7 separate regions of the Homo sapiens genome follow, and all the other regions are linked to region 7. The links are contacts of gene promoters, found by promoter capture Hi-C in human tissues and cell types (Jung and others, 2019). All regions are on one chromosome and are shown on one strand. Each heading gives the region's core, a stretch centred on a gene start or on the middle of the fragment in contact. The rest is flanking DNA. Distances are from core to core; before and after follow the strand shown.

Region 1 (3,924 bases), core at 499-2,998, 980 kb after region 7:
GCAATCTCGGCTCACTGCAACCTCCGCCTCCCTGGTTCAAGTAATTTTCCTGCCTCAGCCTTTCCAGGAGCTGGGACTACAGGCGCCAGCCCCCACCCCGGCTAATTTTTGTATTTTTAGTAAAGAGGGGGTTTCACCATGTTGGCCAGGATGGTCTTGATCTCTTGACCTCGTGATCCGCCCGCCTCGGCCTCCCAAAGTGCTGGGATTACAGGTGTGAGCCACCGCGCCGGGCCAAGTTTTTTTTTTTTTTTTTTTTTTTGTCAGAAACAAAAGCAAGTAAACGGATTCATGTCAAATAACAGGTGTTGTGGAACAGTGCAGTAGCCTGACCTACATGCAGTGTTGTGGGTTAAAACAAAAAACATCTTGAACCATCTGTCTTGAACTGTTAGGGCACCCAGAAAAAACAATGTACTACAATTAAACTGGCAAAAACCAAAACAACCGACCTCCTTTCTTCCCTTTTTTTGTTTTTGTTTTGTTTTCTTTTGCTTTGGAGGGGCTGGAGGGAGTCTCGCTCAGTCGCCCAGGCTGGAGTGCAATGGCGCGATCTCGGCTCGCTGCAACCTCTGCCTCTCGGGTTCAAGCGATTCTCCTGTCTCAGCGTCCCGAGTAGCTGGGACTACAAATGCCCGCACCACGCCCGGCTAATTTTTGCATTTTTAGTAGATACAGGGTTTCACCGTGTTGGCCAGGCTGGTCTCGAACTCCTGACATCAAGTGATCTGCCCCCTGGCCTCCCAAAGTGCTGGGATTACAGGCGTGAGCCACCACGGCCGGCCTCACCTCCTTTATTTCTGCAAAAGAAATTAAAATAATCCACGCCATTAATCGTGCATGTATTTTGAGTAGGACGAAAATGAATTGGGAGAACATTTCTGGCAACTGTAACTTAGATGGTGATCAGTTTTCTGTCGTCCTTGGAAATGTCTCATCACATGTCTTGAGCAACACCAAGATTAATTTTACATCGGCGTTCATTTTCGCTGTTCCCTGTGCCTGGGGTCCGTTTGGACTTTCCTATCCTTGAAATCCAAATGTAAAGGATGATCTTTCCTACCCATCCCATGCGACTTAGCTCCCAGTGACAATCACACTACCTTCATTTTTTTTTTCTTAGTGTTTGCTGTGAAATTTGTTTCTCTATTTATGTACTAGTTTATTAGTTTATAGTCCGTCTACCCCAATGCAAAATAATGAGAGTAGACACTTTGCTGGTTTTTATGGCTGCTTTGCAATAAATATTGAATGAATATTAGGCACCTGCTGTCTACAAATGGCTCTATACTCACAAACGTCTCACACTGCATGAAAGAATGCATTTGTGGGTGAGTAGATGGGTGGGTGAATAAATGAACAAAGATAGTAAGCGGGTAACACTGACTCCCATTCATTGCGCAGCTGTGACGCTCTGGAGTCCAGGTGTCCAAACGCGGCTGCACCACGTGGCCGGCCCAGCACCACGTGGTCAGCTCGGCGACCGGCTGGAGTCAGCCACTGTTCCACCGTGCACCGCTTCATTCCCGCTCTAGAGGGCAAACCAGACCCGATTTCCGGCCTCCATTAGGTCGCAGAGGTCAGTTGCCCTAACAACCAGCTGGTTCCCGCCTCTACGTTGCGTCACTTCCTTCCACGCCCGCCTCCATCATTAACGCGCCTGTGCAGAAGGGAAGCAACTCCGGGCGCCTTTCTTTTGCGCAGGCGTCGCGCCCTGGGGCCGGGGCCGGGCGGCACCGCGGTGCGCAAGCGCAACCGTCGGTGGGTCGGGGATCGGTCGCCTGAGAGGTGAGTGAGGGGCACTGCGCTGAGCCTGGTGGGTCTGGGGTCTGCGGCTCGGGGCCCACGGGGCCCCAAAGCTCGTAAGAGTTTGGGGATCGTGAGGCCAGGGTCACCGCGACCCGCGGGGTCCTGTGAGTAGGCGGTGCGGAGGGGAAACTGAGGCCGGGCGCCATCGGGCAGGCCCTTCGAGCCCTGATCTCCCTTCCCCAGGCCCCAGGTCCTGGAAATGCTGGTCCGCGGCCTGGTGGCGAGGACGGCGGGAGGGGAAGGCGCCCCGCATGTAGTGAGCGCTCGCTGGGTGTTCGCTGCCGTTCCGCTCTTATTAACCGCCTGGAAACGTCGTCCCTGTGACTCAGGGACCCCCGTTTGTGGGGACTGAAGTCGGAACTCTGGTTCCAGCGCCGCCAGTCCCTACCTGGGTGACCTTGCCCAGCCTCTTGGCTTCTCGGAGCCTCAGTTTTCCCCTCTGTAAAACGGGCGTTGTTCAAAAGTCCCTGCCTAGGAGAAGGAGAGCCGCAGGGTCCAGCGGAATCTGAGAACTCCAAAGAATTAGCAGGCGTTCGTCTTATATCATGTTTAGAGTCTTCTTCTGCATATCGTGCTAGAGGTGGGGGAAATCTGGGATTCAGGACCGTCCACCACCACCTCCCACCCGCTGTGTAAACCTGGGTGAGTCGCCTTCCCTCTCTGAGCAAACTGTTCCTTCTTTCGCAAACGAGTTGTAAAAGCAGATGCCTCGGAGGGTCATTATGAGGATAAACCCACATTCAATTATTTGATCAGGTGCCTGGAACTTGATAAGAGAGAGCTGGCTTGAGAATAGCTGTTTTTGTTATTAGGTGCCAGAAAATTGCAGTGTAGTGTGCCCTTCAGAGGTTGAATGATTGTCCCATTTTCTTTTGTTTCTGTCTCTGATTATTCCTTTTGTCTGCCTTTTCCCTCCCTTGACCAGTGGTTCTCAACCAGGAACAATTCTGTGCCCCAGGGATTCTTGGTGACATTTGTGCTTGTCATGATTTGGGGGACCCCCTGGTTTGGAGTTGGTGGAGGCCAGGGTTGCTGCTCGGCACCCTGCAGTACCCAGGACGGCCTCACCCCAGAAAATGATCCAGCTTTAAATGTCAATAATGCTTTAAAAACCCTACCATACGGGCTGATGACCTGAGGTCAGGAGTTCAAGACCAGCCTAGCCAACGTGGTGAAACCCCGTCTCTACTGAAAATATGAAAATTAGCTGGGCATGGTGGTGTGCACCTGTAATCCCAGCTACTCAGGAGGCTGAGGCAGGAGAATCCCTTGAACCCAGGAGGCAGAGGTTGCAGTGACCCAACATCATGCCACTGCACTCCAGCCTGGGCGACAGAGCGAGACCCTGTCAAAAATAAAAAAAAAAAATCTACCCTAGATCAGTGATTCTTCACCAGCATGGGCAGCTGGGACTGTGTGGGCCCGGGAAATCGTGTACAAAGTTTTGTGTGTGCACCCAATTTCGTGCAGAGAGAAATGGGTACTTTGGAGTTTAGCTTCTCAAGTCAGACTGCCTGGGTTCAGAACTCCTCATTTTCATCCTCGGAGCTGGGTGGTCTCGGGTGGTCCCCATCTTTCCAAGCCTCAGTTTTTCTTCTGTGGAATGGGGATTATAATAGTAACCACCTCAGGTGTGTGAGGATTAAACCAGGCAAGGTATCAGCAAACTGACCAGAAGGCCAAATCCACCTCTGGCCTGTTTTTGTGAATGAAGGTTTGTAGGAACACAGCCACACTCCTTGGTTTATGCGTTACCTGTAGTTGATTTCGAGCTAAGAAGGCACAGTTGAACAGTTGCCATAGGGAACTTAACGCCTGCAGAGCTGAAGACAATCTGGCCCTTTTCAGAAAAACCTTTGCTGACCCCTAAAATAAGCTATCGCATGTACAGCACTTAACTGGGTGCCTGGAAAGCTGTAAGCACGCCAAGGATTTGAGCTGAGGTTTATAATTAAATCTTCCTAGAAGGGTGAATGATTCCAAATGCGGGTGAGCTCTGCCCCAGATTGGAGGATCCTTGAGAGCTGTCGTCTTACTCAATTCTACATTTTTTCTTTTTTATGCCAAGACCCAACAGTGGCTCTGGTAGGAAGTGCTCAGTACAGGCTGAAGGAA
Region 2 (3,481 bases), core at 717-3,216, 960 kb before region 7:
CCAGCACTCTGGGAGACTCAGGCGGGCGGATCTCTTGAGGTCAGGAGTTCGAGACCAGCCATGACCAATATGGCGAAACTCCATCTTTAGTAAAAATACAAAATATAGTCAGGCGTGGTGGCGGGTGCCTGTAATCCCCGCTACTTGGGAGGCTGAGGCAGGAGAATCGCTTGAATCCGGGAGGCGGAGGTTGTAGTGAGCTGAGATTGCGCTACTACATTCTAGCCTGGGCAACAGGAGCAAAACTCCATCGGAAGGTAAACACATACACACACAGTTTTTCTTTTCAGAAAGCTCTTTTACAGTGTAGTTGGGGTCGGGCGCGGTGGCTCATGCCTGTAATCCCAGTACTTTGGGAGGCTGCAGGCGGGCGAATCACGTTGAGGTCAGGAGCTGGAAAGCAGCCTGGGCAACATAGTGCAGGCCCTCTAGTCTCTACAAAAAATACAAAAGTTAGCTGGGAGTGGTTGCACACGCCTGTAGTCCCAGCTATAAGGCACCGTCTCTACAAACGCATTTTTTAAAATTCAGCCAGGCGTGGTGGTCCACACCTGTGGTCCAAGCTACCCAGGAGGCTGAGGTGGGAGGATCGCTTGAGCCCAGGAGGTGGAGGCTGCAGGGAGGGATGATCGTACCACTGCACTCGAGCCTAGGCGACAGAACGAGACTCTCTCTAAAAAATACAAAAAACAAAACACACAAAAAAGTAGTTTGATCTAAAGCAAAATGGTGAATATCTGCAGAAACTAATGTGATATCAAGTATAGATTGATATCTATGAGATGAAAAGCTTCATTTGACCCCGGATGGGTTTGTGGGCCGTTTGACGTGCATTGTTTTAATGGAAGGTGGATTTATGATAAAGTGATAAACATGTGTGTGGGTGGGTGGGTGTGTTGGAAAGGGTGTTTATTGGATTTCTTTTTGTCTTCCTTATTTTCCTTCTTTCGGTCTCTACTGTATCAAATACAATAACAGATATTCAGGAAGAGCGGATATTGCTTTAGCTGACTGTAGCCAGTGTTTCTTTGGTGGGACAACGCAACTATCACTGCAACATTATCTCTATAGGAGAATTTAAAGAACCCTGACGCCTACCGGTTTCCGTAGTGTAGCGGTTATCACATTCGCCTCACACGCGAAAGGTCCCCGGTTCGATCCCGGGCGGAAACAGGTCAGCTGTTTTTCCTAACCGGAGAGTAATACTATTTGAAATTCACCGAAAGAACGATTCTAGTCCCATTCTTTCTCTTCCGCCTTCCTCCTGCCTTTTAGACATTTTTATGGGATTTAAAAAAATTTTCCGTGATTGATGGCTCACGCCTGTAATCCCAGCACTTTGAAAGGCCGAAGAGGGCGGATCACCTGAAGTCAGAGTTCGAGACCAGCCTGGCCAAAATGGTGAACCGCCCCCCCCCCCCCACCCCGCCCCACCCCGCCCCACCCCACCCCATCTCTACTAAAAATACAAAAATTAGATGGGCGTGGTGGCGTGCGCTTGTAATCACAGCTACTTGGGAGGCTGAGGCAGGAGAATCGTTTGAACCTGGGAGGTGGTGGTTGCAGTGAGCGGAGATCACGCCACTGCACTCCAGCCTGGGGGACCGAGCGAGACTCCGTCTCAAAACTAAAATGAAAATTTCAAACTCGCAAAAGTGGTACCGCATGCGTTGGCCGGGAATCGAACCCGGGTCAACTGCTTGGAAGGCAGCTATGCTAACCACTATACCACCAACGCCCTGATAGGTAGCATCCTCTCCGGATATCCTTAATAGTGGGGGATCATGGGTTTGACTGAGTGATACCAAGTCACAGGGGGGTGTCTCTCCCTAACCCACCGGAAGATGTCGTTCATGGGGCGTTACGCACCTTAGGCCGCCGCGCCGCGGGCTCCCCCCCAAGCGCCGCGGACGCCTTGGTACGTGCCTGGTGGTGTCCAATCCCAGGCCGCCGCCTGGGTCGCTCAACTTCCGGGTCAAAGGTGCCTGAGCCGGCGGGTCCCCTGTGTCCGCCGCGGCTGTCGTCCCCCGCTCCCGCCACTTCCGGGGTCGCAGTCCCGGGCATGGAGCCGCGACCGTGAGGCGCCGCTGGACCCGGGACGACCTGCCCAGTCCGGCCGCCGCCCCACGTCCCGGTGAGCAGCGCCCGCGCGCCTCGTCCCGCCCCGGCCGCGACCCTGAACCCGCCATTGACCGGCCCCGCCTCGGCCCTGACCCTGCCCTCGCCATCGCCTGGCCTCCCCGCACCCCGGAGCCTCCATGCACCCGTCTGTGGGTCCCTCCGGCCCCCTGCCTCGTTTCCTCTCCGCCCCAGGCCCTCCTCCACCTTCTTTCCCTCCCCGATTCCTGCGCTGGCCAGGCCACCTCCCAGTTTCTCCCCTTCCCTGATGGGCTTCCCCACCCATCCCGTTGCTGCCCAGGCCACCAGGCTCTGACCCCTTCCGGAGGTGGCCGCACCCAAGAACGTCCTCGTAGCTGCAGACCTTGACACCCTCTCCCCTTTCGTGCAGGCTCTGGAGGTCCCGATCTCCTCCCTCTCCCCATGCAAATGCTGTATATGCACAGAGGCCACCTCCCTCGACCTGCATCCTGTCCTCACTCCTTTACCACTTCCTCCAACCTTCGCCCCGAGGCTTGGTCTCCCCAATCCAGTCCTGATCCTCAACCCTACTTGATCCCTCTATTAAGGGTATCCAGAGACTCTTTTTCCTGCCGAGGCGTTGGTGGTGTAGTGGTTAGCATAGCTGTCTTCCAAGGGTCCAGCCCACAGGGTTCAGCCCCCTTCTCTCAGCCTCCCTTCTCAGGCCTGTCCAACCGCCTACCTTCTTCCCACACAGCCTTAGGCCAGCCCTGACACTTCCCTGTTCACGCTGCCTCTGAGCCATCAAAAGTGGTCTATTCCCTTGGCCCCCACCCCCTGGTCTTCCCCAGGGGCCCCAGGAGGAAGTCACTTGCCTCCCAGGCAAGAACCAACCTGCTTTCGAGGAGCTGGGACTAAAGCCCAGGGGGTGTGGACCGTAGGCACCAATCCCTGCATTCCTCTGCTGGGTCCCAGGGGAATCGGGGCCCGTGGGATGGCTTCTCTCCCAGATTCTGTCCAGGGCATGCAGACAGTGCTGCAGGGCTTCAAGGCAGAGCTAGAATCTAGCCAGGTAGAATCGGGCCTGACAGTCTGCAGCTCCTGAGTGGGGGAGGCTGAACGGCTGGCCGGTGCTTCCATTAACCTGCCACATTCATGACATGTTTATCCTATAAAGGTCTGTGTCCCACGCCTGCAGCTGGAATGGAGGCTCTCTGGACCCTTTAGAAGGTCAGTTGTGCTGGGGTTTGGCAGCCAGGAAGGCTGGGGTGTGGGCTGGTGGGATTCCTTTGCCTGCTCTAGAATATAGACATGGGCAGGAAATGGTTTTCTATGGCCCTGGATGGTTGTCCTCCGCAGGGCAGTGGCTGCAGTTTTTTGTGCGCCTGCTGGAGGCTTTTCT
Region 3 (3,599 bases), core at 14-2,513, 600 kb after region 7:
CGAGAAAGGAATGCAGAGGGGATAAACAGGACGCTGGCGACGCAGCCTCTAAGAAATCTTTAATTTCAGCCCGCACGGAGCCCTGCAGAAGGTGAGGGAATAAATACAAAAGGTTAAGATGCAGCATGCCCAGCCCCCAGCCTGCAAGGGATGGGGGGATGCTTGTGGGCCGCGATTTCTCTCGTCCGCAAACCGGGGCAGGACACGCTGTGAGCCACCGAGCTCTGAAAGTGACAGTGTTTTCCAGCGGTCTGTTACCCCTTGCAAAGGGAAGTCCCTGCACCCCTAGTCCACAGGTTCCTGGAAGGCGTTCCTTCTCCTGTCCACTAGAGTGCGCCAGAGTCCACGCCCGAAGGCGCCTGAAGGCTCTACTAGCCCCATCCCAGGGTGTGCGTCACCCACAGAGGGTCCCAGAACCCTGCCCAGGAGGTGACACGCCCGGAGATGGGGCTCCTGAGAGATGCCCACCCACCCAAGTCCTCAATCCCCTGATTTCTTCACCTTTTCATCCACCCTGGCATCCCAAATGGCCGTTTTGCTCCTTCCCTTTCAAAGGAGGGAAACTGAGTCAAGCAAGGGCAGGAGTACCCTGGGGGGCGGCTGTCCTGGTGAGAGGCAGAGAAGAGAGCGGCCAGCAGCGGGCCGTCCGTCCCCCGACTCCCTTGCGTGTGGGCCGAGGCTGGAGAGATAGACCAGGGACACTAGGGGTCCCTGCAGCCACTCCCACCTCCCACCCGCCCGCCGGTGCCGCCTGCCCCAGGTGGGGCCTGGGTCACAGCAGGTTGATCTCGTCCAGGTAGCGGGCGAGCACCGAGTCCCGCACGTCCTTGAAGACCTTGCGGATGTTCTGTGTGTCTGTGGCACATGTGTAGTGGCTGAAGAGGCGTCGGGATCGTGCGCCCTTCTTGCTGCCCTCGGGGCCGTCCACGCACCCGGTGTACATCCTCGTGTACATGTCCAGGATGAACCTCTTGGCTGCCTCAGCATCCTGCTTAGGGCCTGGGGAAACAGTGTGGGAAGGGGGTGAGGACCCTCCCTCTTTGGACCCAGGGGGCCTCTGGAGACCCTCTTCCCTGTAACCAGCACTGAAGGGACCCAGGGATCGCGCCTGTCATTTTTCTGTGCGTTGACTCCATCTTTTGTAGTCATAGCTGGTCACACGACTCCGGCCCAGCCAATGGGAACACAGGAGATTGTCTCACACGAGTCATGTGACCTGAAATGGACCAATGAGACCCAGCTCTGGGACTTCGGGCAGAACTGTGTTAAAGAGAGACACTCTCTTGGCCTCGCTTACAGCCAGTGCAGTTGGAAGACTGGAATCGCATAGACAAATATCCCAGGACTGTGAAGATGGCGGCATCAAGGCCAAACGAGGGGAAGAGAGTCCTCTTTTTTTTTTTCTTGAGATGGGGCCTCGCTCTGTCGCCCAGGCTGGAGTGCAATGGTGCAATCTTGGCAGTAGCTGGGATTACAGGCGCCTGCCACCATGCCCAGGTAATTTTTGTATTTTTAGTAGAGATGGGGTTTTGCCATGTTGGCCAGGCTGGTCTCGAACTCCTGACCTCAAATGATCAGCCCGCCTTGACCCCCCCAAAGCGCTGGGATTACAGGCGTGAGCCACTGTGCCCAGCCCTGCATAGGGTTTTAACATGAAGATTAAAGAAGCTTTGTAGAGTGCTTCCACCAGTGCGGTAGATGTGTTAGCTGCTGTTATCAATTTTATTATTATTATCATTATTATTATTATTATTATTTTGAGACAGAGTCTCACTCTGTCACCCAGGTTGGAGTGAAGTGGCATGATCTCAGCTCACTGCAACCTCCACCTCCTGGGTTCAAGCGATTCTCCTGCCTCAGCCTCCCGAGTAACTGGGATGACAGGCCCCCGCCACCACACCCAGCTAATTTTTGTATTTTTAACAGAGATGGGGCTTTGCCATGTTGGCCAGGCTGGTCTCAAACTCCTGACCTAAAGCGATCTGCGCGCCTCAGCCTCCCAAAGTGTGGTTTCTTATTATTATCACAAATATTATTTAGCACAGTGGAGGGTAGGGCTGGGAGTCAGCAAAGAGTGCACCAGTCACTTGTGCTGGGAGACAAGGATGAGTCATGGGTGGTTCCCTTTGACCTGAATGAAAAAAATATCTACCTTATCCTGTTCCCAAATTCTCTAAACTATGAGCTGATTCCCAGGGCTGCTTGGCAAGGAAGAGGGGCTATCCAGGCCACCATCCTGGAACAACTTGACGTCTATCTCCCAGACCCTGAATCTTGTGGGTATAATTGGCTAAAATTGGCCTCATGGGCTCTGAGACATGACAAGACCAGGGATCAAAACCTGGTGACTTCACCAAAGTTTATGTTTACTGATTGTGGACCTGGTGTCAAGCATGTACTAAGGACTCATCTACTATGGTTGCTTGTATATTGAGGTGAACAGTGTCCCCCAAAATTCATGTCCACCTGGAACTTCAGAATATGACTTTTAGAAATCGGATATTTGCAGATGTAATTAGTTAAGTTAAATTAGGTCATGGCCAGGCATGAGGGCTCACGCCTGTAATCCTAGCACTTTGGAAGGCCAAGGCAGGTGGATGACAGATGTGTGGTTGGGCCCAGGAGTTCCAGATCAGCCTGGGCAACATGGCGAAACCCTGTCTCTACAGAAATATACAAAAATTACCCAGGTGTGGTGGTGTGCGCCTGTAGTCCCAGCAACTCAAGAGGCTGAGGTGGGAGGATCACCTGTGCCCAGGAGGTTGAGGCTGCAGTGAACTGTGATCACACCACTGGACTCTAGCCTGGGCAACAGAGCAAGACCTTGTCTCAAAAAAAAAAAAAAAAAAAAAAAGTGGTCATACCAAAGTATGGGCCCTAAATCCAATGACTGGTGGCCTTATAACAACAGGAGAGGACACATAAAGGCATGGTGAGAAGACAGCCATGTGAACATGGAGGCAGAGATTGCAGTGATATGTCTACAAGCTAAGGATTGTAGGCCACCACCAGAAGCTGAGAGAGAAGCATGGAATGGATTTTCCCTTAGAGCCTCCAAAAGGAACCAACCTTGCCAATACCTTAACTTTGGACTTCTGTTGTTTCCTGTTGTTTTAAGCCACCCAGTTTGTGGTACTTTGTTACGGCATCCCCAGGACATGAAGGCAAGTTATCTCCAAGATGGCTGCCGTCACTTCCTTCCCTCCCTGTATGCATGTGTCATGCTGCCTTCAAGAGATGGAGTCTCTTTCTTTTGAATCCGGGCTGATATGAGTGATGTGCTTGACAAATAGAATGTGGCAGAGTAACGTCTGACATTTCTGAGGCTATCATGAGAAGCAGCTTCCACCTGGGCTGAAGTCTGTCTACCCTGAGGCAGCCATATTGTGAGTAAGCTCAAACCATGTGAAGAGGCTGTGGATCATGAGGCCCCAGATGGAGACAGAGAGAACAGGGGAGGTGGAAAAGGAGAGACAGACTAGGAGAAAGGGGAGGAGAGAGAGATGAGATGGGAGAGGGAGGCAGGGAGAGACACAGAGAGAGAGGCCAAGAGTGCCAAGAGCACCAAGGCACCAGACATATGGGGGAAGAAGCCATCT
Region 4 (3,948 bases), core at 1,447-3,946, 920 kb after region 7:
AGTTCCTGCCACTGCACTCCAGCCTGGGCGAAAAGGGTGAAACTCCCTCTTTAAAAAAAAAAAAAAAAAAAAGAAAAGAGAGAGAGAGAAAGGAAAGAGGGAGAAAGAAAAAAAAGAAAAGAAAAGAAAGATAGATTAGGCAGGCATGGTAGCAGGTGCCTACAGTCCCAGCTACTTTAGAGGCTGAGGCAGGAGAATCACTTGAACCCAGTAGGCAGAGATTGCAATGAGCCGAGACAGCACCACTGCATTCTAGCCTGGGCAATAGAGCGAGACCCTGTCTCAAAACAAAACAAAACAAAAAAACAAAGTAAAGGGACACAGCCCTGAGGCAGCCCCTGTGTTCGGGGAAATCTGATCAGTGCCAGGGCCGGCATTGCAGAGGATAAACACTTTAATATAAGGAGCTGGGACAAATTGTCATCTAAACAAGAAAAATATCTTGTATTCTACCTATTTCAGGAACAACAAAAAATGTATTATAGAATTAAGGTAAGGGTACTGCAGTATTGGAAGCAGAACAGAATCATCCACCGTCAAAAATTCTCTACCATGTCAAGGAGAATAACATATTTTGGTAAATTTGTATAATTTATCTGCAACATGTTTCGTGGCAATGTATTCATTTTTCTGCACGTATGGTGGAAAGGAGATTTTCTCTGTTTCTCTGAGACTCTTCTCCCCAGTAACATTTTGAAGTTTAGGCCCTGGAATCCTATTTATTGTCATTCAAAAGAAAAGAACAAGGCTGGTCGAGGAGGGAGAATCACCTGAGCTCAGGAGTTCGAGACCAGCCTGGGTAACAGAATGAGACCCCATCCCTAGAAACAAAAAAATACAAAAGCTTAGGCATGGCGGCACACACCTGGAGTCCCTGTGTTCAGAAGGCTGAGGCAGGAAGATTGCTTGAGCCCAGGAGGTGGAGGCTGCAGTGAGCTGTGATCGCACCAGTGCACTCCAGCATGGGCAACAGAGCTCCCAAAAAAATAATAGTAATAAAAGAAAACAGAAAATAACAGATCTGAGAAACGACACACACTCCAGGGAATGTTTAACAAATGGAATGTAAGACACAGATTTTAATTTTTTTCCTGAAATTCACCCCGTTGGAAGTTTTTTTTTTTTTTTGAGACGGAGTCTCGCTCTGTCACCCAGGCTGGAGTGCAATGGCGCGTTCTCAGCTCACCGCAACCTCCGCCTTCTGCGTTCAAGTGATTTTCCCGCCTCAGCCTCCCGAGTAGCTGGGACTACAGGCACCCGCCACCACGCCCAGCTAATTTTTGTATTTCTAGCAGAGACGGGGTTTCTCCATGTTGGCCAGGCTGGTCCCCAACTCCTGACCTCAAGTAATCTGCTCCCCTCGGCCTGTCACAGTGCTGGGATGACAGGCTTGAGCCACCGCGCCCGGCCTGGAAATATTTTATCTTCCAACTTCTACTAATTAAATGTACGTTTCACTTCCTAAAAACTGCTGACTCGAAAAAAGGAAAATCTTTTCACAGTGACAAACCCAGGGAGGGGTCAAGTCTGGCCAGGCTACCACGACGGACGCCCTCCCACCCCCAACTCAGGTGTTGCCTCAGCAAGGAATCCCATTGCTAGTACTCAAAACAGAACTGAGAAACGTCTTCAAATCCACACTTTCTAGGGAACCGTGAAAGAATATATTTCCGTGGTTTTAGCCCCCTCGTTTGCAGTCAGTTGCTACAGCAGTCCGAGGACACTAATGCACCAGCCTCCCGGGCGTCCCCGCTGTGGGTCTGCGTGCGTTTGCTTTTGGGGTCCTCGCTCTCCCTTGTTTCTCTAGTCTTTTCAGTTACTTTTCTTCCTTGTGTGTGAGAGCCCAGGGACCAGGAACCCTTGTTTTTTTTCCCCTTACCTACCCCAGGCATCTTGGGGTCAGAGGGGACAAGAAGTCCTCAAGAAGGAAAACCGGGACTCAGGGGAGGAAACCTCGCACGCCCCAGGGGCTGCCTTTGCAGGTGGGGGCGTCTCCGCCCCCGCCGAGGCCCCACCGCTCCCGGGCTGTCCCGGGAGGAACCCAGGGTCCCCCAGAGACCGCGGCCGGAGGCGCGGGGCCTCCAAGGAGCTGAGCCGCGGGAGCGCGAGCGGAGGCGGCACCGACCAGGGACCCGCACCCCAGGAGGCACCGCGGCGTCGGCCCCAGGGCGGGTCCCGGGGGAGCCTGGACCGCACCTCGGGGTCTCGGGCGACTCTGCCTCCCGCGGCCCGGGGGTCCCGAAGCCGCAGCGAAACGCTCCGAGGCGTCGCGGCCCCGGGCGGGGCGTGGGGGGTCGGGAGCGCAGGGACGCGGGGACCCCGGGACGACGGGGACGGAGTCGGGCTCCGGGCGCCGCTCCCCGCTCTGCAGCCTTGGGGCCAGAGGCGGGCGGGGACCCGGAGCTCGGAGCGCCCTAGCCGCGACCTCAGCGCGGGAGGCGGGGCCGGGCGGGACCCCCGGGGCCCAGGCTCCCGTCCTGCGCCGCCCTCGCCGGGGCCGCCCCCCGCGTCCCTCAGCTCCCCCCAAGCCGCGGTCTCGGGCGGTCGCCGGTTCCTGCTGCCCCGCACCGGGATCCTCTCCTGCGCCACACTCACCATGTCCCGGGGCGATTTCTTCGCTACCGGCGCAGGTGAGCGCGACAGGAACCGGGACGCCAGGGACCGCTAGGGGCAGGCGGGGCACTCACGGCTAGGACAGAGGCGTCCCGTCCCAGGGGCCTGATTAGACAGAGCTCGGGAAGCCGCGCTTCTGATTGGACAGTGCTGCCAACGTCGGCGACTCTGATTGGAGAATTCCCCAGTCCGTCCCCTGGCGCTGTAAATTGGGCAGTTCCCCGGATTCCGATTGGGCGTCCCTCATTGGATACTTGTCTCGGCCCCGCCCCCGCCCGTCCTGACTGGGTAGTTCCCTAGGGCCCACCCCCTGCCGGTGAGTGACGGGAGCGTTGCGAACACGCGTGGCTGTCCCGCCCTGCGGGGACACTGGCTTCTGGGCGAACTGGTTTCAGCCCGGGGCGGAATCGCCCTCTCCCCGCAGTTCGGGCGCCCCGCCCGCGTCCTCCTCCGGGACGGGCGTGGGAACTCCAGACTAGTTTCCTCACGAGGCGACCCCTTGTCCGGACAGGAGGTGGATGCAAGCGGGCGGCCCGGGCCTGGCAGGGCGAACGGGGGCTGGGCGCCGGGTCCGAAGGGCCGAGACCTACGTGGGGGCGGGACCCGCAGACGTGACGTCATCGCGCTGCGGGCGACATGGAGACCCCGCCCAGGGGGCTGCGAATCCGGAGACCCGGTCTGGGGGAGGCCGAACCCAAAGCCTGGCAGGGGGCAGGAGCTTTGCTCAAATCAACCAGAAGATATGAGATGTTCATTAAAACCCTCACATTTGGCTGGGCGCAGTGGCTCACGCCTGTAATCCCAGCACTTTGGGAGACCGAGGTGGACGGATCATCTGAGTTCAGGAGTTTGAGACCATCGTGGCCAATATGGTGAAACCCTTTCTCTACTAAAAATACAGAAATCAGCCCGGCGTGGTGCCGGGCGCCTGTAATCTCAGCTACTGGGGATGCTGGGGCAGGAGAATTGCTTGAACCCGAGAGGTGGAGGTTGTAGTGACCCGAGATCGCCCCACTGCAGTCTAGCCTGGGCGACAGAGTGAGACTCCATATTAAAAAACAAAAAAACTCTCAAGTTCATATTTTAAACTCTAAGGAAAATGTTTTCAGATCATTTTTTTAAGTACATCCCCCCAAAATTTGGAAGATTGAAAAGCTGGCCGGGCGCTGTGGCTCACGCCTGTAATCCCAGCACTTTGGGAGGCCGAGGCGGGCGGATCACCTGAGGTCAGGAGTTCAAGACCAGCCTGCCCAACATGGCAAAACCCTGTCTCTACTAAAAATACAAAATTAGCCGGGCGTGGTGGCGCGCACCTGTAATCCCAGCTAGGGAGGC
Region 5 (3,444 bases), core at 449-2,948, 580 kb after region 7:
AGATGTCCCCAGACATCACCCAGCGTCCCCTCGGTTGACAACAATGGCTCTAAGTAAAAAAATCGTAACTCTGGGGCAAAATGGGACCTGAGGCCAAAGTCTGGTTCCATCTCCAGAGATGGGCTCCCCAAGGGCTGGCAGAAGCTGGGGGTCCCCGCGCCTCAGGTTGAGCCTGAGATGTGACGAGAGGGACCAATCCAAGAGAATCCGGGCTGGGAACTAAGGGGGCCAGGAGAACAAGCGGACGGGACTCCTTCACAGGGAAGGCCAGGCCTTGACTTCCAGGGACCTGAGGGGCCAGGCTGAAAAGAAGAAAAACCAGGGACCAGGTTCTGGAATGTCAGGGACAGCTATAGCCAGGCAAAGACAAGGGGATGTGGAATGGTCTAGACACTGGGGTCAGGGCCACGACGGGAGGGGGCGAGGCTGTTGAGTGGGAGACTTGCAGAATGCAAGGGCAAGGGGGTGCGAATTTGGAAAGGGAAGAGGAAATCCTGGAAAGATGGAACAAGTGGGGTTCTGGGAAGTGGGTGTGAGGAGGCTGAGCTGAGGGCGTGGGTATGCATCAAAGGCGGGACAGAAAGGGGGTCAAAGGGAACCCCAGGCGAGTGGACTGAACTGGGGACGTGGGAGGAGACCAGGGAAGCTGGGCTAGCAGATTCTGAAACATGACTCACGAACTGGGACCAGAGAGCGTCAGGGGTCTGGGGACAAATGTGCCCTTGACGTGGGGGCCGGTGACTAGAGCGAGAAAATTCAGGGGAGTTGAATTTGGGCACTGGACAAAATGCACTTGGCACCCAGGGCCGTGGGAGGGGGTGGGGAATGCTGGACCACCGCGTCGGGTGGCTCAGCCTGGCAGAAATCAGTGCAGGGACCTTTAACTCCAAACGCAGTCAGCTAAAGGCGAGAGGCCTGGGAACACGGACGTGACCCAGTGAATCCAGAGACCAACCAGATGGTCTCCAGAACAGGACCCTGGGAGCTGGAGGTCAGGACGGGAGCGTCTGCTCAAGTGAGCCCGGACCAGGAAGCCTAAGGGGCGGAGGGGGCCCAGGAGGGAGAAACTCGGCAAGGCAGGCAGACGCCGGCCCAGCTGGGGACAGGAGAGAGGGGACTTAGGGCTCCAGGGACGCGGGACGCTTGGCCCGGCCATGGGTTCCGGGGCAGGGAGACCTAGGCAGGGGCCGGGGGCTGTGGGAGCGAGCGCGGGGGGTCCCTGGGCGCTAGGCAAGGAGAGCAGGGATTCCAGGGCGCCCGGGGGTCCAGGGCGGCAGGGCTCTGCCTCGCCTGGGGCCTGAGCATGGGTCGGGCAGCCCAGGCCGGAGCTAGGGATCGGCCTGGGGATCGCCGGGCCGGAGTGGCGTGGCCGGGGAGCCCGGGGAGCCCCGAGGGTGGGCCGGGGACACGCACCGTAGGGCTGGCCCTGCAGGTCGTACTGCTGCATGCGGTACACGGTGAACTCGTGCGCGGCGTCGGCGGCAGGCAGCGGCGGCGCCACCAGCAGCAGCACAGCGGGCAGGAAGACGATGAAGCCGAGCGGCAGACAAGACGCCTTCAGCATGTTCTCCAGCACCTCGCCCGCTTCCTCCAGCATCCTGGCCGGCGGCGGGGCCGCGCGGGGCGGCAGCTGGGACGGGACGGCGGCGGCGGCGGCTCCCGCGGACTCACCTCGGCATGGGTAGCCGCCGGGGTCCTGCGGGCGCCGCGCGGGGCAGCCCGCACTCGCCCTGAGGTCCTGTGGGCACCGCGGCGAACCGCCCCGCCAGCCGCGCTGCCTGTCGGGAATTGTAGTCCGTCCGTCCGGCGCTCGCGGAGCCCTGTGGGAGTTGTAGGCCCACTCTGGAACTCCCGGAAGGTGCGGCAGGCTGTTCGGCTAATACCGTTGAGGTTTCACATAAACTCCAAGTCATAAAATGCAATAAAATGCTTTAAAAAACTATTTCGCGATATCACTTTCTTAACCTTGTCTTTGGCGTTGGGGGAGCTAGGGTGAGGGGCGAAAGGTGGGGACAGGACGTGACCTTGCGACCTGGAAGGAAGTTGGGGATAAAGAGAAAAGGAAGTGCCTGCCTGGCGCGCTAGGTCTTCTGGGAGTTGTAGTCCCGTCAAACACACAAAGGGTCACGGGAACTGTAGTCGTCCTGGCAGAAATTGCTGAGAAAAACAAAAATCACTTAAAACTCCCGAGGATGTAGATGTCAAACTCCACGAAGGCAAAAACTTTTGTCTGTTTTGTGCATATGATGTATCCCCGGCATCTAGCACAAGACCTGGCGCACGGCGGGTGGCCTATACCATTTTTGAATGAATGAATGAAAAATAGAAAGTCATGATAGTCAGTTCCTAAGGGAGGCCGCAGTGGGTTGTGGGACTTGTAGTCTGGAACCTGCGGTTTGTGCAGGGGTCGGTGGCAGGTATTTATATTTATCTTTATTCATATTTGGGGCATACTTATACTAAAAAAGTATTTGTTGTTCATCAGAAATTTAAAGTTAAAACCCAGTGTCTCAGGGCTGGAGGTACCTAAGGAACGTCCCTTTGTACAGATGGGGAGACTGAGCCCCAGGGTGCAGCAGACAGTAGCCCTGGCTCTCAGCACGTTATCATCCCAGGCTCCGTACAGCTGCCTAAGGAGTCAGGGCTTCCTTTCTGTCCCAAGTGAGAAGTGGCATTGGTGCCGATTAAGAGCCTGGGCTCAAATCCCAACTCCTCCATTTCCCAGCTGTGTGGCTTTGGGCAAGTCGCTTCACCTCTCAGAGTCTCAGTTTCCTCAGATATAATGATAAAGAATCAAGCACTCTCCCTGCCAGCAGCATGTGAGAATTCTGTTTGTTTGTTTGTTTGTTTGTTTGTTTTTGAGATGTAGTCTCTGTCACCTAGGCTGGAGTGCAGTGGCTTGATCTCAGCTCACCGCAACCTCCACCTCCTGGGTTCAAGCAATTCCTGTGTCTCAGCCTCCTGAGTAGCTGTAAATTACAGGCGTGAGCTACCGCGCCCGGCTAGAAAGGGAGTTTCTGAGTGTGCTGCTGGGTCACTGAGCACCTACTGTGTGCCAGCCGTGTGGTGGGTGCTGGGGACACAGCCGGGACCCCAGCAAAGCCACACTATCCACCGACACGGAGCTCGAAGTCCAAAGGAGGAGGTGGATTGTGTGACCAGGGGTGATGGGAGCTGGGATAGAGGACACAAAGGCAGCTGGGAGAAGCCCAGAGGAGGCCTAGGGAGGAGAGGAAATCAGAGGAGGCTTCCTGGAGGAGGTGACACTTAAGCTGAAACTCAAAAGATGAGCCAGAGCAGATGAGTGAAGAAAGAGGGAAAGTTGTGCCCAGTATAAAGCAGAGCTGTCATGCAGGGAACACAGGCAGCTGTGGGAGCCTAGAGGAGACCTAGGGAGGAGGAGAAATCAAAGAAGACTTCCTGGAGGAGGTGACGCTAAAACTA
Region 6 (3,700 bases), core at 271-2,770, 580 kb before region 7:
AGACTAGCCTGAGGGCCGGGCACGGTGGCTTATGCCTGTAATCCCAGCACTTTGGGAGGTCGAGGCAGGTGGATCACAAGGTCAGGAGATTAAGACCATCCTGGCTAACACAGTGAAACTCCATCTCTACTAAAATAAAAATACAAACAAATTAGCTGGGCATGGTGGCACGTGCCTATAATCCCAGCTACTCGGGAGGCTGAGGCAGGAGAATTGCTTGAACCTGGGAGGCAGAGGTTGCAGTAAGCCGAGATCGCTCCACTGCACTCCAGCCTGGGTGACAGAGTAAGACTCTGTCTCAAAAAAAAAAAAAAAAAAAGACCAGCCTGGGCAACATAGCAAGAACCTGTCTCTAGTAAGTGTAAAAATTAGCTGGGCGTGGTGGCAGGCACCTGTAATCCCAGCTACTTGGGAGGCTGAGCCAGGCGAATGGCATGAACCTGGGAGGCGGAGCTTGCAGTGAGCCGAGATCACGCCACTGCACTCCAGCCTGGGCTACAGAGCGAGAGTCTGTCTCAAAAAAAAGAAAAAAAAAAATTAGCCAGGTGTGGTGGCATGCAACTGTAGTACCACCTACTCTGGAGGCTGAGGCTGGAGGATCACTTGAGCCTGTAAGGTCGAGGCTACAGTGAGTCATGATCGCCCCACTGTACTCCAGCCTAGGCAACATAGTGAGAACTCATCCTTAAAAAAGGAAAATAAATTAGCTGGGTGTGGTGGTGCCCACCTATAGTCCCAGCTCTTCGGGTGGCTGAGGCAGGAGGACCGCTTGAGATTGGGAGGTCAGGGCTGCAGTGAACTATGATCGTGCCACTGCACTCCAGCATCGACAACAGAATGAGACACCGTCTAAAAAAGAAAAATTGCAGATGAAATTAAAGTTGCTAGTCAGCTGACTTTAAAATAGGGAGAGTAGCGTGGATTATCCAGGTGGGCCCAATGTAATCATTAGGGTCCATCAAAGTAAGAGAAAGGGCCAGGTGTGGTGGCTCATGCCTGTAATCTCAGCACTTTGGGAGGCTGAGGCGGGCAGAAAACTTGGGGTCAGGAGTTCGAGACCAGCCTGGGCCAACATGGGGAAACCTCGTCTCTACTACAAATACAAAAATTAGCCAGGCGTGGTGGCGGTCACCTGCAATCCACGCTAGTCAGGAGACTGAGCTTGGACTCAGTCTCTGAACCCGGGAGGCAGCGCAGTCTCTTGAACCCGGGAGGCAGAGGTCGCAGTGAGCCAAGATCATACCACTTTACTCCAGCCTGGGCAACAGAGTGAAACTCTGTCTCAAAATAGGAAAAATAGATAAATAAATAAATAAAGAGACAGACCATGTCTCTGTCTTTGCAGATATAGCGAAGATTATTCTCCCATTCAAGTAGACTTATACATTCTCTCTGTTCTCAGTTCCACACCGGAGAGGCGGGGATTTCCCTAGGATCACTGGACCTGCTGGGATCAGCCTCTGCCCAGCCCTGGCAGGGGAGGGAGTTGACGGGCTGACACAGGAAACTCCCCTGAAACCTGTTTCTCAGCTTCCCGGCCCAGCTGGGGCACCCACTGGAAGGAGAGGCCAGGCGGAAGACCCTGGCTCCGTCATGGCCTCTGCCCTGAGGCCACCCCGTGTCCCCAAGCCTAAGGGTGTCCTGCCTTCACACTACTATGAGAGCTTTCTAGAGAAGAAGGGGCCCTGTGACCGGGTAAGGTGGGGAGGCGGGGGCTGGCCCTGCTGGGCCACCGTGGGGAGCTGCGGCACCTCTCTGAGTCCCTGTCTCCCCACTCGCCAAGGGGGGGCGGGGTGGGTGCTGGATGGGGCAGGACACGTGCTGGGGGACTGGGGTGGGTTCTGGCCATCTGCCTCTCTGTGCGTCTATCTCTGTCTCCGTGTGTCTTTGAATTTGGTTTCTTTTTCTCTTTCTCTCTCCCTGGCCCCGTCTGTCTCTCCCGATGTCTGTCTCAGTCTCCCTCTCTCTTTGTCTCAATCTTTGCTTTTGTCTCTCGTTCACTCTCTTGAATACAAACAAGATCAGGGACTTCCTCCAGGAAATGGGGAGTCCTCTGACTCCCGAGCTTCCTCCCGCTCCCAGCCCAGGAAAAACTCCGTGAACCTCAGCTGCTGGGGCGAAGGCCAGGACAGGTGACATGTGAGGACAGTAAGAGCTAGCGGGGGCCACATTCCACAGGACAGATAGTTGCCATGGACAGTGCGTGCATGTGTGTGTGTGTGTGTGCTTATGTCTCCCTCAGAATAAAGTCCCAGCCCCTCCGTTCCCCGTGAGGCCCTATCTCTCCTTCCCAATGCCGCATATTCATTTTCTTTCTTTCTTTTTGTTAGAGACAGAGTTGCTCTGTCACCCAGGCTAGAGTGCAGGGGCACGATCATGGCTCACTGTAGCCTCAAACTCCTGGGCTCAAGTGAACCTCCCGCCCCAGCCTCCTGAGTAGCTGGGACCACAGGCATGCACTGCCTCTTCTGGCTTTTATTTTATTTATTTATTTTTGAGACTGAGTCTCACTCTGTCACCCAGGCTGCAGTGCAGTGGCACCATCTCGGCTCACTGCAACCTCCACCTCCCAGGTTCAAACGATTAAGCGATTCTCGTGCCTCAGCCTCCCGAGTAGCTGGGATTACAGGTACGCACCACCACACCTAATTTTTGTATTTTTAGTAAAGACAGTGTTTCATTTTGTTGGCCCGGCTGGTCTTGAACTCTTGACCTCAGGTGATCCACCTGTCTCGGCCTCTCTAAATGCTGGGATTACAGGCATGAGCCACCGCACCCAGCCTTTTTTTTTTTTTTTTGAAGATGGGGTCTTGCTGGCCAGGCGCAGTGGGTCACACCTGTAATCCCAGCACTTAGGGAGGCTGAGGCAGGTGGATCACCTGAAGTCAGGAGTTTGAGACCAGCCTGGCCAATATGGTGAAACCCCGTCTCTACTAAAAATACAAAGATTAGCCGGGCGTGGTGGTGCGTGCCTGTGATCCCAGCTACTCTGGAGGCTGAGGCAGGAGAATCACTTGAACCTGGGAGGCAGAGGTTGCAGTGAGCCAAGATCGTGCCACTGCACTCCAGCCTGGGCAACAGAGCAAGACTCCGTCTCAAAAAAAAAAAAAAGATGGGGTCTTGCTATGTTGCCCAGGCTGGTCTCAAACTCCTGGCCTTAAGTGATCCTCCTGTCTCAGCCTCCCAAACTGCTGGGATTAGAGGTGTGAGCCACCATGACTGCCTCATTTTCTAATACAGATCAAAACAAACACCCCCAGCTCCTCCCTGCCCATGTCCCCGCCTCTGCCCCTGAGGTTCCCTTACCTGTAGTGGAGTAGACTTTCCTTCTACCTCCATACATCCAAATCCTCCCCAACCAACAAACCCTTTAGAGCCAGTAGATCACTGCAGTTAAGAAAGATAATGGGGGAGGCCGGGCTTGTGGCTCACGCCTGTAATCCCAGCACTTTGGGAGGCCGAGGCAGGCGGATCACCTGAGGTCAGGAGTTCAAGACCAACCTGGCCAATATGGTGAAACCTCGTCTCTACTAAAAAATACAAAAATTAGCTGGGTATGGTGCCAGGCGCCTTAATCCCAGCTACTTGGGAGGCAGAGGCAGGAGAATCATTTGAGCCTGAGAGGCGAAGTTTGCAGTGAGTCAAGATCAAGCCATTGCACTCAAACCTGGGGGACAAGAGCGAGACTGCTCTCAAAAAC
Region 7 (3,517 bases), core at 208-2,707:
ATGACCTCCCCAGACTCCCTTCAAATCCTTTCCAACCCGCGCCTGCGCAGTGAAACGCGTGGTCTCCACGTAACCACATCCTCCTCCCAGGCCGCTCCGCCCCAAGCTGGCGCCTGCGCCCTGGGTCCAATCGCTACAGTATCTCCGAGCCAGACGCCCGAGCTCCAAGCGGCGCTGGGTCCCTCAAACTGCGCCTGCGCATACAGCCTGGCATCCGCCTCTCTGCGCTTGCGCATCAGTTCTAGCACCACCTCCCCAACCACCGCCTGCGCACTGTCAATTCCTCAGTGCACCCACCGTCCCCATTTGGTTCCTCTTAACCCAGCTCACCTGGTTTCTTGGCATAATCCCGGGCCAGGAGTCTTCCGGAAGTGGCGGGGTTTAGGAGCTCCCAGGCCCCCCAGCCGGCCCACGTCCGGGTAGCCCCGAAAAGGCGTTTGGTCGCCATGACGTATTGCGGGCAGCTTGCAAGTGCACGTTTCCGGAAGACGTCAGTGGCCCAAGGGTGTTTGGGAGTTGTAGGCCCCGTGGAAGTGTAGGCCCCGTGGAGGTGTCTGGGAAATGCGGTCTCCCAAGCTTTCATAATCTATGGTGATTTCTTCAGACTTTTGTAGACATACACAGTTACTATAGGAGGAGGCGTTCAAGGGATATTTCATTGACTTCTTGCCCTTCTTCAATTACATAACATTTACTAAAAATATCACACTTTATATGTTCCTGATTCCATCCAATGAGTAATTATTCAAAGCTTTAAAGTTAAAAAAAGAAGATTAACAATGAGTCTAATATACTCCAGTAGGGCTGGAGTCTAATCACTGTTAATTTTTATAACATTATATTTTTAAAATTATATATAACATATATAATACATATAATATATAGTATGTTTTATATATAATATATAAATTAATAATATATATTTTATATATTCTTTTCCAGCTCTACTACTGCTAAATCCTTAACCCGCTTGATCTAATTTAATCCTCACAATTGAGAGGTAGGTACTATTTTTTCCCCAGCTTATAATGAGGAAACTGAGTTCTCAGGGAGGTAAAGTTCCCAGGCCGACCCCAAATCCATGGTGCACCTATGTGTCTCCCTACTGTGAGCCAAACCGAAAGTCCGTCTTTAACAGGGTCTCCACGACGCTTCCGGTGCCTCAAGGTCCCAAGGAAACCACCTCTCACACTTCTTTAATATTTCCCAACCCCACTTCTCCCCATCTGCCATCCTTTGGAATAATGAACACAGCCCCCAGAGCCAGGCAGTGATTATTAACCCTATTTTGCAGGAGAACAAACAGGTCCTGGGGCCAGCCGGGGCAGTCTGCGGGCCGGGAAGCCTGGGATTCGAACTCCCCTCCAACATCTGCAGTTGTCCCAGCGCCCCCGCGTGGCGAGGCTGGGTGGGAGAACTACATTTCCCAGCAGGCCTCGCGAGGCCGCGCATGCTCAATGGGCCAGGGCTCTGCGCGGATAGAGGAGCGGGCGCCGGGACCGGGAATCCCCGAGCTGCGCCTTCTGGGGACGCGGCCCGGGCTACGTCGGGGCCGTCCGTGGGGAGCGGGGTCCTGGAGGCTGCGCGGGGCTGAGGCGGCCTCGATTTGGGAAGTGAGTGTCCTCGAGGTGCAGAGCGCAGTCTGAGTCGGCGCTTGAGGTCTTCGGTCTGAGGGGGGACTAGGGTCTGGGCTTGGGGCTGGGTCCTGAAGTCGGGGTCTGAGTCTGGAGTCGATCTTGGGGTAGCATTGGAGGTTTGGAGACTGGGGTCCGCCTTATGGCGTCTTGGGTCTCTGGTATTAAGTCCAGGGTCCTGGGTCTAAAGTTCTGGATGGAGGTATTGGGGGTTGAGGTCATGGGACTGGGGTCTTGGGTCTGGGGTCTTGGGGAACTGCCTCTGACCAGTCGGTAGAGTCAGGGTGTGAGGTCTGGGTCTCCAGCCTGGGTTCCGCGTCTTGAGGGAGGAGGACCTGGAAGAACCAGGGCTGGAGTGAACAGACTCCATTAGTTGAGAGAGGTCTGGGATGACACAGGGGCTCGGGAAGCCACTGCCTCACACCTCCCCATTCTGTGGCTCAGTTTCTTCATCTGTAAAATGGGAATCCTAACTTCCTTGCAAGGGTTAGTGGGTATTAAATTATGTGCCCTGTATGAACAGTACCCAGCTAGAGCCTAGCACCGGATAGGCAGCCGGGAAACCTCAAGTTTTTTGTTTTTCGGGTTTGTTTGTTTTTTTTAAGACAGGGCCTCACTCTGTCACCCAGGCTGGAGTGCAGTGGCACAATCAAGGCTCACTGCAGCCTCTGCCTCCCCTGGTTCAGGTGATCCTCCCACCTCAGCCTCCCAAGTAGCTGGGACTACAGCCTACACCACCACCCCTAGCTAGTTTTTTTTTTTTTTTTTGGAGATAGTCTCGTCTGTCGCCCACCTTGGAGTGCAATGGCGCGATCTCAGCTCACTGCAACCTCCGCCTCCCGGGTTCAGGCGATTCTCCTGCCTCAGCCTCTTGCGTAGCTGGGATTACAGGTGCCTGCCACCACACCTGGCTAATTTTTTGTATTTTTAGTAGAGACGGAATTTCACCATGTTAGTCAGGCTGGTCTCAAACTCCTGACCCCATGATCTGCCCGCCTCGGCCTCACAAAGTGCTGGGAATTACAGGCGTGAGCCACTGTGCCCGGCCTTAATTTTTTGTATTTTTTGTAGAGAGAGGGTCTTGCTCTGTTGCCCAGGCTGATCTTGAACTCCTGGGTTCAGTCAGCCCTTCTGGGCCTCCCAAAATTCTGGGATTACAGGCATGAGCCACTGCACCCGGGCGAAACCTCAGTGCTGACTCTCTCTCTTTCAGCTGCCTGAAGATGCCGGCCTAAGCCTGGAGTCCAGGCATGGACTTCCCCACAATTTCCCGATCCCCTTCGGGGCCTCCAGCCATGGACTTGGAGGGGCCCAGGGACATTCTTGTGCCTTCGGAGGACCTCACCCCTGACAGCCAGTGGGACCCTATGCCAGGAGGCCCCGGCAGCCTCAGTCGGATGGAACTTGATGAGTCAAGCCTTCAGGAGCTGGTGCAGCAGTTTGAAGCTCTGCCAGGCGATCTGGTGGGCCCATCCCCAGGTGGAGCCCCCTGTCCCCTACACATTGCCACAGGCCATGGCCTGGCCTCCCAGGAGATTGCTGATGCCCACGGGCTCCTGTCTGCCGAAGCTGGCCGGGATGACCTGCTGGGCCTCTTGCACTGCGAGGAATGCCCGCCTTCCCAGACTGGTCCTGAAGAGCCTCTAGAGCCTGCCCCCCGACTGTTGCAGCCCCCTGAGGACCCAGATGAGGATTCTGACTCCCCAGAATGGGTGGAGGGGGCCTCTGCTGAGCAGGAGGGCAGCAGGAGCTCAAGCAGTTCCCCGGAACCCTGGCTGGAGACGGTGCCTCTAGTCACACCTGAAGAGCCACCCGCTGGTGCCCAGGTAGTGCCCGCCCCGCCCTCCAGGCATCCTGGACTGCCTGGAACCAAGCAGGGAGAC

The links. Contacts are between HindIII fragments. The study calls those that stand out against the background at their distance.
Region 1: the fragment with the promoter of SGTA here is called in contact with the fragment with the promoter of APBA3 in region 7 in 1 of the 25 tissues and cell types used here (small bowel).
Region 2: a contact is called between the fragment with the promoter of DPP9 here and the fragment with the promoter of APBA3 in region 7, in 2 of the 25 tissues and cell types used here (hippocampus and pancreas).
Region 3: a fragment that was not itself captured here is called in contact with the fragment with the promoter of APBA3 in region 7 in 2 of the 25 tissues and cell types used here (aorta and stomach).
Region 4: a contact is called between the fragment with the promoter of ZNF555 here and the fragment with the promoter of APBA3 in region 7, in 1 of the 25 tissues and cell types used here (pancreas).
Region 5: a contact is called between the fragment with the promoter of NCLN here and the fragment with the promoter of APBA3 in region 7, in 1 of the 25 tissues and cell types used here (pancreas).
Region 6: a contact is called between the fragment with the promoter of STAP2 here and the fragment with the promoter of APBA3 in region 7, in 2 of the 25 tissues and cell types used here (aorta and hippocampus).

Annotation. Positions count from the first base shown.
Region 1 is chr19:2,781,097-2,785,020 of GRCh38, reverse strand. It overlaps SGTA (small glutamine rich tetratricopeptide repeat co-chaperone alpha), which reads left to right and starts at 1,748. Exons shown (of 12, transcript NM_003021.4): 1 at 1,748-1,788. RefSeq lists enhancers at 1,317-1,386, 2,883-2,982 and a silencer at 1,777-1,826. The HindIII fragment of the contact is 32,124 bases long and covers 1-3,924 here.
Region 2 is chr19:4,722,327-4,725,807 of GRCh38, reverse strand. DPP9 (dipeptidyl peptidase 9) reads left to right here and starts at 1,966. Exons shown (of 22, transcript NM_139159.5): 1 at 1,966-2,134; 2 at 3,257-3,309. TRG-TCC1-1 (tRNA-Gly (anticodon TCC) 1-1) reads right to left here and starts at 1,738; the gene lies at 1,667-1,738. TRV-CAC3-1 (tRNA-Val (anticodon CAC) 3-1) reads left to right here and starts at 1,101; the gene lies at 1,101-1,173. It overlaps LOC105372250 (a long non-coding RNA gene), which reads right to left and starts at 2,928. Exons shown (of 3, transcript XR_936274.2): 1 at 2,822-2,928; 2 at 1,099-1,188; 3 at 221-673. RefSeq lists silencers at 1,046-1,245, 1,696-1,785, 2,016-2,165. The HindIII fragment of the contact is 28,361 bases long and covers 1-3,481 here.
Region 3 is chr19:3,160,193-3,163,791 of GRCh38, reverse strand. GNA15 (G protein subunit alpha 15) reads right to left here. Exons shown (of 7, transcript NM_002068.4): 7 at 43-999. The coding sequence ends at 773. Among named protein-coding and RNA genes, the nearest start is that of GNA15-DT, 6.8 kb to the right of the region's middle. RefSeq lists enhancers at 1-381, 382-1,243, 1,047-1,341. The HindIII fragment of the contact is 7,338 bases long and covers 1-3,599 here.
Region 4 is chr19:2,840,223-2,844,170 of GRCh38, reverse strand. ZNF555 (zinc finger protein 555) reads right to left here and starts at 2,696. Exons shown (of 4, transcript NM_152791.5): 1 at 2,596-2,696. The coding sequence starts at 2,598. RefSeq lists silencers at 2,316-2,365, 2,406-2,705, 2,926-3,115, 3,126-3,235. The HindIII fragment of the contact is 15,507 bases long and covers 1-3,948 here.
Region 5 is chr19:3,184,184-3,187,627 of GRCh38, reverse strand. It overlaps NCLN (nicalin), which reads right to left and starts at 1,698. Exons shown (of 15, transcript NM_020170.4): 1 at 1,414-1,698. The coding sequence starts at 1,597. RefSeq lists a silencer at 1,212-1,781 and enhancers at 2,292-2,431, 1,738-2,620. The HindIII fragment of the contact is 11,170 bases long and covers 1-3,251 here.
Region 6 is chr19:4,336,647-4,340,346 of GRCh38, reverse strand. It overlaps STAP2 (signal transducing adaptor family member 2), which reads left to right and starts at 1,520. Exons shown (of 13, transcript NM_001013841.2): 1 at 1,520-1,695. The coding sequence starts at 1,594. The HindIII fragment of the contact is 19,957 bases long and covers 1-3,700 here.
Region 7 is chr19:3,759,632-3,763,148 of GRCh38, reverse strand. It overlaps APBA3 (amyloid beta precursor protein binding family A member 3), which reads left to right and starts at 1,457. Exons shown (of 11, transcript NM_004886.4): 1 at 1,457-1,613; 2 at 2,848-3,460. The coding sequence starts at 2,885. MRPL54 (mitochondrial ribosomal protein L54) reads right to left here and starts at 467. Exons shown (of 3, transcript NM_172251.3): 1 at 331-467. The coding sequence starts at 448. It overlaps LOC105372248 (a long non-coding RNA gene), which reads left to right and starts at 509. Exons shown (of 3, transcript XR_936268.1): 1 at 509-591; 2 at 943-1,000; 3 at 1,295-1,395. RefSeq lists an enhancer at 104-593 and a silencer at 1,255-1,572. The HindIII fragment of the contact is 13,428 bases long and covers 1-3,517 here.